Regions from separate parts of the Homo sapiens genome. Here regions 1 and 3 are each linked to region 2. The links are contacts of gene promoters, found by promoter capture Hi-C in blood cells and fetal thymus (Javierre and others, 2016). All regions are on one chromosome and are shown on one strand. The core of a region is centred on a gene start or on the middle of the fragment in contact, and the rest is flanking DNA. Distances in the headings are between cores, read along the strand shown.

Region 1 (3,112 bases), core at 610-3,109, 3.3 Mb after region 2:
GAAAGCTTTCAATGTAGCCCTGAGTAATAGAGAGGTGAGAGGAACACAAGAGACTGGAAAAACTGGTGATGAGGCAGTTTCAACAGGCATACCAATGATGTCATTTACTACAGATAATCAAGAAAGATTAAGACTAAAAAGTATCCACTGGACTAAAGGAACAGGAGATGCTGTCCCAAAAGTTACTACCAATTTCATAGTTAGTGAGGAAAATCCATATTTTACTAGTTTCAGAGTGACAGATAGGATAGTGAAGGCTACATATTCAATGAACTTAATGTCAATGGTGTGCAGAAGTTGCCGTGCACTGGCTTATGAGAGCCTACTGTTAAATTTTTAGGAATTTTGCAAGGCAGTTGTTAAACAGGGATTATTAAAAATTAAATGATATAAATGTACAACTAAATTATACAAAAAACTCATGCAATAAATATTCAAATCTCTAATTTCCTAGTTATTTGAATACATTTTGCTATTATCTATGCTCCTGAGGGGATTTACATCTATTGGATCTATATGGTGGAGATGCTATTGCACACCTCTTCCCAATTCGCATTCAGTGACAACATGTTAGTAGCTTGAAATCTACCATGGTGTAAGTATTCCCACCTCAGAAATTGGTAAACGCCATAAATAAAAGTTCGATTTCTTGTTTTGTTGATTGCCCACTGGAGATTTAAGGATCTGTTGGAGAAAATGTTTACGAGGCAGATAAGACTTAAAAGTATGCTGTGCCTGCAGCTGTTATGCTGTGAATAGCAAAAGAAAAAAAATGTAAATTTTCCTCTAGTATTTGAAAATTACTAGCTGATTCCGGAAGAAGTTGCTCACGTTGTTGAGTTACTATGGGTGTTTGTGTTTCACTTGCATCTTATGTGTATCTTGTTAATGTGAACAAAAATATCAACAAACATTCAAGTGGTCGCCTTGAAGTCTCCTTTCTTTTGGCTTGTGATGAAAGTGATATCTTTCCCCATTCTTCTTCAAAGAACTACGACCACATACCTCACTCTCCTTGATTCTCTATTTTCTGTTCTCAAAGTGGGTGAGGAGGTTCAAGAATCATGACATTCATCGTCTTTGAAACATTCTCCAGGAGCATCTTTCTCACACCCATTTTGACCTATCATATATATTATGGGGTCCTTAAACTGGAAACTTAATGTTAAACATTTTATTATACTTATTTTCTCCTTCCATTAGACTAAGCTCATGGAGTATGTGGGCCAGGACTTCATCTCTAGTGCCTTAACACAGAACCTGGAACCATAATATGTACTTTTAATAACTATTTGCATGAGTGAGTGAATGAAGGTGGTAGGGATCCTGTATTGGTCTGTTCTTGTGCTGCTATAAAGAAATATCCGAGACTGGATAATTTATAAAGAAAAGGGGCTAAATGGCTCATTGTTCTGCAGGCTATAGAGGTAGCAGAACAGCTTCTGCTTGGCTTCTAGAGGCCTCAGGAAAGTTATAATCATGGCAGAAGGCAAAGGGGAAGAGAAGCAGGTACATCTTACATGTCTGGAGCAGGAGGAAGTGTGGGGAGGTGCCACACACTTTTAAACAAACAGATCTTGTGAGAACTCTATCACAAGAACAGCACTGGGGGGATAGTGCTAAACCATTAGAAGCAGCCCCTGTTATCCAATCACCTCCCACCAGGGCCCACCTCTAGCACAGGAGATTACATTTCAACCTGAGATTTGGGTGGGGGCACAGATCCAAACCATATCAGATCCATAACTCAAACCACATTTGACTATCTCCAAAGCCCATTTTCCATTCATGGAAAGTCAAGAAATAAGAAGATCTATCAACAGATATCTTCATTAGATACAGACAGGACAGACAGTATAAAATGCAGGCCTATTTATATTGCACTTCTAAACCAAATCCAGCTCCAACTTCACAACCTAAATGAAACTCACGTTTGTGTAATTTTACATATGCTGGACATCACTGAGAACAAGATCAGAGGTCACTGTAATATATAATGGCCTTGTTCCATCCTTTAAAACATTTTTATCTCATTCTAAAAATAGAAATAGAATATTTACAGTTGGTAATTTTCATGGATTGCACATTATTTCATGTAATCTACAACAACTTTCTGGGATAGGTATTGTCTCCATCTTACAGAAGTAGTTGAGGATCAGAGAAATAAGATGAATTTCCTTATGTCACTCAGCTATTAAGTAGCAGAACTAAATTTTAAATTCAGGTCCATTACACTCAAAAGCATATGTTTTTTTTTTTGTTTGTGTTTTTGGTTAAAAAATACCATCTCCGTGTCTCCTGGGAGCTTTTTGCAGCCTCTGACTCTTGTGATTTTACCTTTCCTGAAATTTCCTCATGATACTGCTTAACATTGGTCTTCTTACCTACCTGACCATTCCTTTTGAGCTTCTCCTAACATTTTATCTTCTATCCACCCTCTAAATAATGATGTTCTTTAGGGCTCTGCCTTTGCCACTCTTATTTGCTCACTGTGTATATGCTTTCGCTGTTCAATATCTTCTGTTCTCATACCTACTATTTACACACAGTCAATTCTCATTATTTACAGTAGTTATGTTCCTTAAAGCCATTGAGAACACTGAGTTATTGAATACTGAATCATTGCTGCTAGGGAAAATACAGGGTAGGTTCCTGTGAACTTCTTACATTTTCATCAACTGATCAATGCATAACCTTGTTTTATGTCTATTTCTGTTGAAGACCCCATGTTTAATATGATCATTGATCCACTCACATTGAACTCACAGCCACCAGCACTATAACTCCTGCATGAAGGAAGTTTATCTAGCACATGCATTTTCTCCATAAGGACATCACAGCCTCTTGTACTTAGGAACACCAGACAGTACTTCAGCACTACCCTTGGGGGCCATCTCAAACAGCAAAATCACCAACAAAAAGCACAAACATGTGAAAAACATGGCACTAAATAGAATGTGCAAGGACACTTATTTAAAGTATAAAAGCTGAAATAAAAAGGCAGAATGTCACCTTGTTTGAGCTCAGCTGGGAATGTGCTCATGGGGCAACAGAAATATTTTGCTCCTTTGTGTCTGGGTTTGATCACAAAGCACTGCATGTATTTGGTTTG
Region 2 (3,222 bases), core at 158-2,657:
TTTGAAATTTAGCTCTCATTTTTATTTTATATGAAGCACCATCACTCAGATTTATTTCTTAATCCAGTTCTCCACCTCCTTCATTGAGATAATATAATAGAGGGTTGTAAGGGGGCCCTGAATGGGAGAAAGGATATATGGATGCAGAAGGAGATGCCACAAGATAAAAGCTGAGAGAGCTACTTCAATAAAAACTCTGTGAACTCTCCCCTCCCACCGTCTCTTGATAATAGCCTAACACTATTTGACAAAAGGTAAAGAAAGGCATTCTCTTTATTCTGCAACATGACCTTTGGGGGGTTTCTGTGCATCATCAGGGCAGGGTCAAGCAGCATCCAACCATCCACAGGTGAAAAGGCATGGGGCCGGGGGGAGGCGGGAGTGCTTCTGAAGGCGCGGGTGGGTGGGTTTGTGGGGCTGGAAAAGAGGAATGAAACCAGATGCCACAATGCAACTGCTCTCTCTGGTCCCTGAGCCCTCCTGAGACACTCCCAGGGGTTGCTACGAAACATGATCAAGAGCTGTGGGTTCAGCAATTGACAGAAATGTATCAAATCACTAAGCATTTCTTGCTTGCCTGTTACACATTGGGCATGGTGTTAGCAATGGTGACACAAAGATGATAAAGACGTCGCTGATCTCAAGTCCTTGTCTGGTTCAACCACGTGCCAAGACATTTTAATACTCTGTTGGGAATTCTCAGGCAGCACAGGCCCAGGCGTTAGCAAAGCAGCCAGGGATTTCAGACAGAGGGTGCCATCCAGGGTAAGAAAATGAACTTTTTGTGTCACATTTGCATTTTCATTCCTTAACTAAGAGTATCTGAAAATACTGATGGCACAAACGAACTAAATTCCTGCTTCAGCACCAAATGGATGAACTACTACGGTTTAAGCATTGAACTAGTCCTAATATCACCATTCCAGAAATGTCTTAGTATTAATCAGGACAAGAAATAGGGATCTCTTTCGCAAGAAGCGAGACTGCACTCCTTCCTTTCCTTGTATACGGAAAGGGGACAAAATCCACAGTGAAAGGCCTAGAAGCGGCGCACTCCGCCCACGGGCGGCCCACGTGTCCACCTATTCCGCACCGCGCCCTGTCCCATCCCTATGGAGCGGGGTCTGCCAACGCTCGCGAGAGCCCTCTCGGCTTCCACGTTTGCCACGTTCCAAAGGACCGAGACAAACTGGAAAGCCGAAAGAGGCTCGCGCTCACAGGCAGCTGCGTAGCGCCCGAACAGCCCTAAGTGAGCAGGGGCGGGGAGCGCGGCAGGGTACCGCCGCCTCGTAAGGGCCCTTGCGATTGGGTCCCAGGCGCCGTCACTCAGCCTTCCGGGGGCGGGGCGAGGCCGGGAAGGGGCGTGGCCGTCGGGCGGCGAGCCGCGCGCTCTCGCCCCGGGAGGGAGTCACAGGTTCGTACACGCGAGGCCGGGCGCGCGCAGCCGGCAGGCGGGTGAAGTCTTCCCAGGTGCTGCAGGCGGTGCTGAGGCACAGGGTCTGCTGCAGGAGCAGCGGCCCGAACCCGCTCCAGCGGCCCGCCGCCGCCAGCGGTTCCCGCGTCGCGTGTGTACCCCCGCGCACTGAAGGAGGTCCGCCAGCCCTCACCAGCCCCCGCGGACCGTGCAATGGCCCAGCGTAAGAATGCCAAGAGCAGCGGCAACAGCAGCAGCAGCGGCTCCGGCAGCGGTAGCACGAGTGCGGGCAGCAGCAGCCCCGGGGCCCGGAGAGGTCAGAGGCCCTGCGGGGCGGGGATCTGGGGCCTCGCCTCGGGGTAGGGAGCCGGCTGGCGCGGCGGACGCTGCGGGTGCATCTCCCCAGGTCCCACCGCGCGCCGCCTCCATCCCCCGCGACGCTCCTCCTTTAGGCGCGCGGGGCGGAGGCCGCATTCGGCGGGCCTGGCGGGCGGGCGAGGGGCCAGGCGGACCGGGGTCCGAGCCCTCGGGATGCTAGTCTCGGGGAGCCCCTTCCCAGCGGTTCCTTCACCTGCAGGGCGCAGCCGAGACAGAGGTTGCTGAACGACTGTTTCTTGGCTTTCCGTGGAATTGAACATGGGAGTAAGAGAACAATTTATCGTTTGCCTTGCGTGTTTTGGGGAGTTGAAAATGAGCCAAAGTCAGGGAAAGTGAGTTCCTGCCTAACCAGCAGCGTTTCAGAGCAACTCAAAGGAGGTGAAAATGGGGGCGCCGGGGGGCAGGGGGAGGGAAGAAGTTGGGAGTGATTTGAATGCTCTCAGAAATTATTTTAAATATTTTTGCTTGTATGTAGCTTTCTTAATATGCGTTGCAGTTGCCTTTAAAATAGAATGTCATGAAATACTGAACGAGCGTCTGTATTTTTACCACTTTTACTTAAAATAAAAATCGATTGGATATTCACCTTTCTCCTCGTCCGTGTGCATATCCAGCAGAGAGAACAGATTTTTAAATCTGTTTCGTCTCATATTTCAGTGATTCTTGGTTTCTTTTATACTTCCTTTGACTCATATTTGGGATATTGAAACTGCAATACACATGTGTATGGAATGTGAGCTGTAAACTTCACTTGAAGTGATTTAGACTCTTTGTTTTCTGAGATCTTCAGATCATGCATTCATAATATACCAAGAAAATGAATCAGCTATAGTCAAAGAAGTATTTTCTTTATAGCACTTGTCACTATCTGAACTTGTCTTATTACTTTCATGTGTGTTGTCTTTGGCTCATTCTCTCTGTATCCCCAGCTCCTAGAATGTTCCTTTCCCATAATAGGTGCTCAATAAATATTTGAGTAGTGAATGAATGAATGGATTTAAATGGGGAAAGTAGTGCATTAAATCCATTGCACAAATTTACATTCTAAGGACTAATATTTGTATTCTAAAAGTAAAGATGTAGACACAGTTTGAAGTTCAATGCAAGCATATTAATTCACCTTTGACATAAGTGAAAGTTTGTGTTCCTTTTTCACTTGTTCTTAAATGTCACTTACTTAAACCTGCAGAGGGATAGATTAATTGCCTCAGCCGACTGAGGCTACTCTTTTTTAACATCCCTAAATGAGAATGGGTTCTTCTCATTGTGCCTCTAAGGGCACTAAGCAGAGAAAGCTGATGAACAACTTTAATGTTAGTTGTTTTCAAAAGGTTTCTGTAGCTATTTGCCAGAGAAGCATGTCTTCGTTCCATTTCATTTTTGTGTTTATGAGGAGAGGGCTGATTGCATCTGAGGGAAGTCACTTTATA
Region 3 (3,278 bases), core at 95-2,594, 3.1 Mb after region 2:
AGACCAGCCTGCAACAAACCAATATTGTTAAGTCTAATTGTTCTTTGTAGGTAATCTCTCTTTTCTCTGACTGCTTTTAAGATCTCCTCTCTGTAGTTTTTTGCTGTCTAGATATAGATTTTTTTTTCTTCATCTATCCTGCTTGAGCTTCCTAAAGCTAAAAGTTTTGGAAAATTTGGAGCCAAGCTGAACTAAGGCTAGAACAAATGTTCTCTGATCCAAGTCCAACCTCTTTTCCACTGTACCATACTGCTTCTATTTTAAATACTAGGTTGTGGGCTACTGGCCAGTGCTTATTTTTATGGTATCCTTGAAGTTTAGACTGATTCAGGAATGAATGAAGCCTGTTTTATGTAGATATCAGAATCTTGTTAGTCAAAGTGTTGTCCACAGGCCAGCAGCGCATGTGTGCCTGGAGCTTGTTAGAAATGCACATTCTCAGGCCTCACCCTGAAGCTGCTGCCTTGGAATGTGCATTTTAACAAGATCCCCAGTTGATTGTGTGCACACTAACCTTTGTGAAGCGCTGCGCTAGATAACAGTAATTCAGCATTCATCTTGATTTTTTATTTGTTTGTTCCTTCCAACTGAACTTCCTTCTTTAACTTCTTGATAGTACATATAAAAAGGCTGAGGGAAGCCTCCTGCCCTGCAGTATGACACTTGATGAGGAAACTGGAGGACTTTGAGAGCATAGATGACATTTTTACCATTTCTTCTCATAAATTGCTGGGACTTGAAAATAGAATTGACTGGCTTTATGGATGGTGTCAGTGAAAGGGATTTTGATATCTGAACCATCTTGGCTGGAAGTCACTGCATCTCACATAGTCAGGGAGAATGTAATTTTCTAGAGTCCAGCTGAGTGATAGAAAGCTTTAACCTAATTACTGAGGGGAAGGGCTAAAAAGGCCAGATGAAATAGTGAAATTGTTTAAATTCATGAGAACTCTTTCTGGGAGGGAAGAAGGGCCAGTAATTTATAGGAGAAAACAACTGGTACAGGAACTAGAAATGATACTTAGTCCCTCAGATGTCTCTCTGCAAATGTGTAGAACATGGATAATAAAATGAGCCAGGTCTTTTAACAAAAAAGGATTAATGTGTGTTTTAGGTGTCACTGGAGTTGGGTAAGATGAGACCCAAGATTGGAATCTAGTGTTGAAAAGCTGCAGACCTATTGAAAAGGAAAGACCTGCCAGGAGGTGAGGCAGTGGGCTCTGAATGTTAAGAAGGTATACATCTGAAGGGGAATCCATGAAACCCCAGGAAAAAATCCCAGAGAACACAATTGGAAAGAGGAACAAAGATAACATGATTGTGTTCTTTTGTTACAGGCCACGTTAAGTGGGTGGAAGAAATGGTGGCTGTGTACCTGGTGTAAATGGGAAAACAGGAAGTGGCAATAGAGATACTGGCTGAAATGCTTAGTGAAATCTAAGTACAGTTTATTGACTTCCTTTCTTAAAGTTTTAATTTATCCTAAACTTGAGAACTTTACTTAATTCTGAATATTAAAGACAAATTATTAACCAAGTAGCAATGAAATGAACCATCATAAAAAGCAGTCATATCAAGTTGTTTATTGCTGGAGCTCAGGAGAGTTGAGAGGGATCCTGTCATACATAGAACCTAGAATTTTAAGAAAGCAGATATTGAAAGTTCCAAGGAACAAAAAAGATAGGTGCTGTTACTGGACAGTTTGGAAAGCATATTGACCCAGGAAGTTTGTGAAACTGTCAAAAATACAATTAAGAACATCTAATCCAAATGATCTTTTGTGAGGAGTTACAGAAAATCAGGCAAGCTTGCATGTTGGAAGGAAGCTAAAAAAGAAAAAGAAAATCAGGCTAGCAAATAAAGAATGGTTGTACAGGTAGTATTTCTCTGAGTTTATAATTATTAGTTTTAATATAAAACAAGAAGGTTATACATAGTTAATTTCAAAAAGGTTAAAGCCCCAAATGAGTGGAACCTTTGAAAAATGGTACAGATTAAAAAAATAAAAACAAAAAAACTTCCAAAGTTGCCCTTGGAACTAGGAAGTACTGGGCTGCTGCCTAGGCCTAGCCTGGTACCAGGTGTAACATTGATTTATGACAGGGAAAGCTCTTATTTTGTACTCTATTAATAATACTAATCTTCAGACTGAAAGAGGATGAACTTTCGCAAGATGGGTGAAGATGCAAATGGTACCCAAGTGCTTATGTCTCCTGGCGTAAAATCCTGGGAGAGTTTGAGTGTAGAACCACAGAATTATTTCAATGATCTAGGAACTTTGAAAGGTGCTGAAAGAACATGTGTGCATAAATAGGTTTAATGCAAATTCTAGATCAGACAGATTATTTATAAACCACTAGAAGAGGAAGTTGTTGTCACCAGTCCCCAGCATGAACGTCATGCTGCTAATTCAAGAGAGGTTTAATGGGCTCACAGTTCTGCAGGCTGTACAGGAAAGAAGGATGGCACTGGCATGTGCTTGGCTTCTGGTGAAGCCTCAGGGAGCTTTTACTCATGGTGGAAGGTGAAGTGGGAGCAGGTACATCACATGGCAAGAGAGGGAGCAAGAGAGAGGAGGAGGAGGCTCTGGACTCTTTTAAACAACCACAACCGGATCTCATGTGAACTAACTGAGCATGAACTCACTTATTACCAAGGGGATGGTGCTGAGGCATTCATGAGGGATCTGCCCCCATGATCAGGTCACCTCCCACTGGACCCTACTTTCAACATTGGTAATTCCATATTAACATGAGATTCGGAGGGGACAAACATCCGAACTATATCATTCTGCCCCTGGCCCCCTAAATCTCATGTTCTTCTTACATTGGAAAATACAATCATTTCTTCCCAATAGTCCCCCAAAGTGTTAACTTATTTCAACATCAAGTCCAAAGTCCTAAGTCTCATCTTACACCTATCTCTTTCCACCTATGAGCCTGTAAAATCAAAACAGTTGATCTACTTTCAAGATACAATGGTGGTACAGGCATTGGGTAAACATTCCCATTCAAAAGAGAGAAATCTGCCAAAAGAAAGGGGCAGTAGGCCTCACTGAAGTCTGAAACCCAGTAGGGCAGTCATTAAATCTTAAAACTCCACAATAATCTCCTATGACTCCTTGTCCCACACCCAGGGCCAGCAGTGTAAGAAGTGGGCTCCTAAGGCCTTAGGCAGCTCTGCCTCTGTGGCTTTGAAGGGTGCAGCCCACTTGGCTGCTTTCACAGGTTGGAGTTGAGTGCCAGCAACTTTTCCATGCTGAGGTTGCAAGTTGCTGA

What was found. Contacts are between HindIII fragments. The CHiCAGO score rates a contact against its expected background, and 5 or more counts as called.
Region 1: a fragment that was not itself captured here is called in contact with the fragment with the promoter of ASPH in region 2 in 3 of 17 cell types (total B cells, activated CD4 T cells and non-activated CD4 T cells); the score reaches 8.5 in total B cells.
Region 3: a fragment that was not itself captured here is called in contact with the fragment with the promoter of ASPH in region 2 in 1 of 17 cell types (activated CD4 T cells); the score reaches 5.2 in activated CD4 T cells.

What each region holds. Positions count from the first base shown.
Region 1 is chr8:58,403,810-58,406,921 of GRCh38, reverse strand. No RefSeq gene overlaps it. Among named protein-coding and RNA genes, the nearest start is that of UBXN2B, 6.0 kb to the left of the region's middle. The HindIII fragment of the contact is 3,704 bases long and covers 8-3,112 here.
Region 2 is chr8:61,712,777-61,715,998 of GRCh38, reverse strand. ASPH (aspartate beta-hydroxylase) reads left to right here and starts at 1,407. Exons shown (of 25, transcript NM_004318.4): 1 at 1,407-1,730. The coding sequence starts at 1,628. It overlaps MIR4470 (microRNA 4470), which reads right to left and starts at 1,211; the gene lies at 1,140-1,211. RefSeq lists silencers at 1,198-1,567, 1,608-2,037. The HindIII fragment of the contact is 6,840 bases long and covers 1-3,222 here.
Region 3 is chr8:58,649,010-58,652,287 of GRCh38, reverse strand. The region is part of intron 1 of NSMAF (neutral sphingomyelinase activation associated factor); the gene reads left to right. Among named protein-coding and RNA genes, the nearest start is that of NSMAF, 9.2 kb to the left of the region's middle. RefSeq lists an enhancer at 358-1,082. The HindIII fragment of the contact is 931 bases long and covers 879-1,809 here.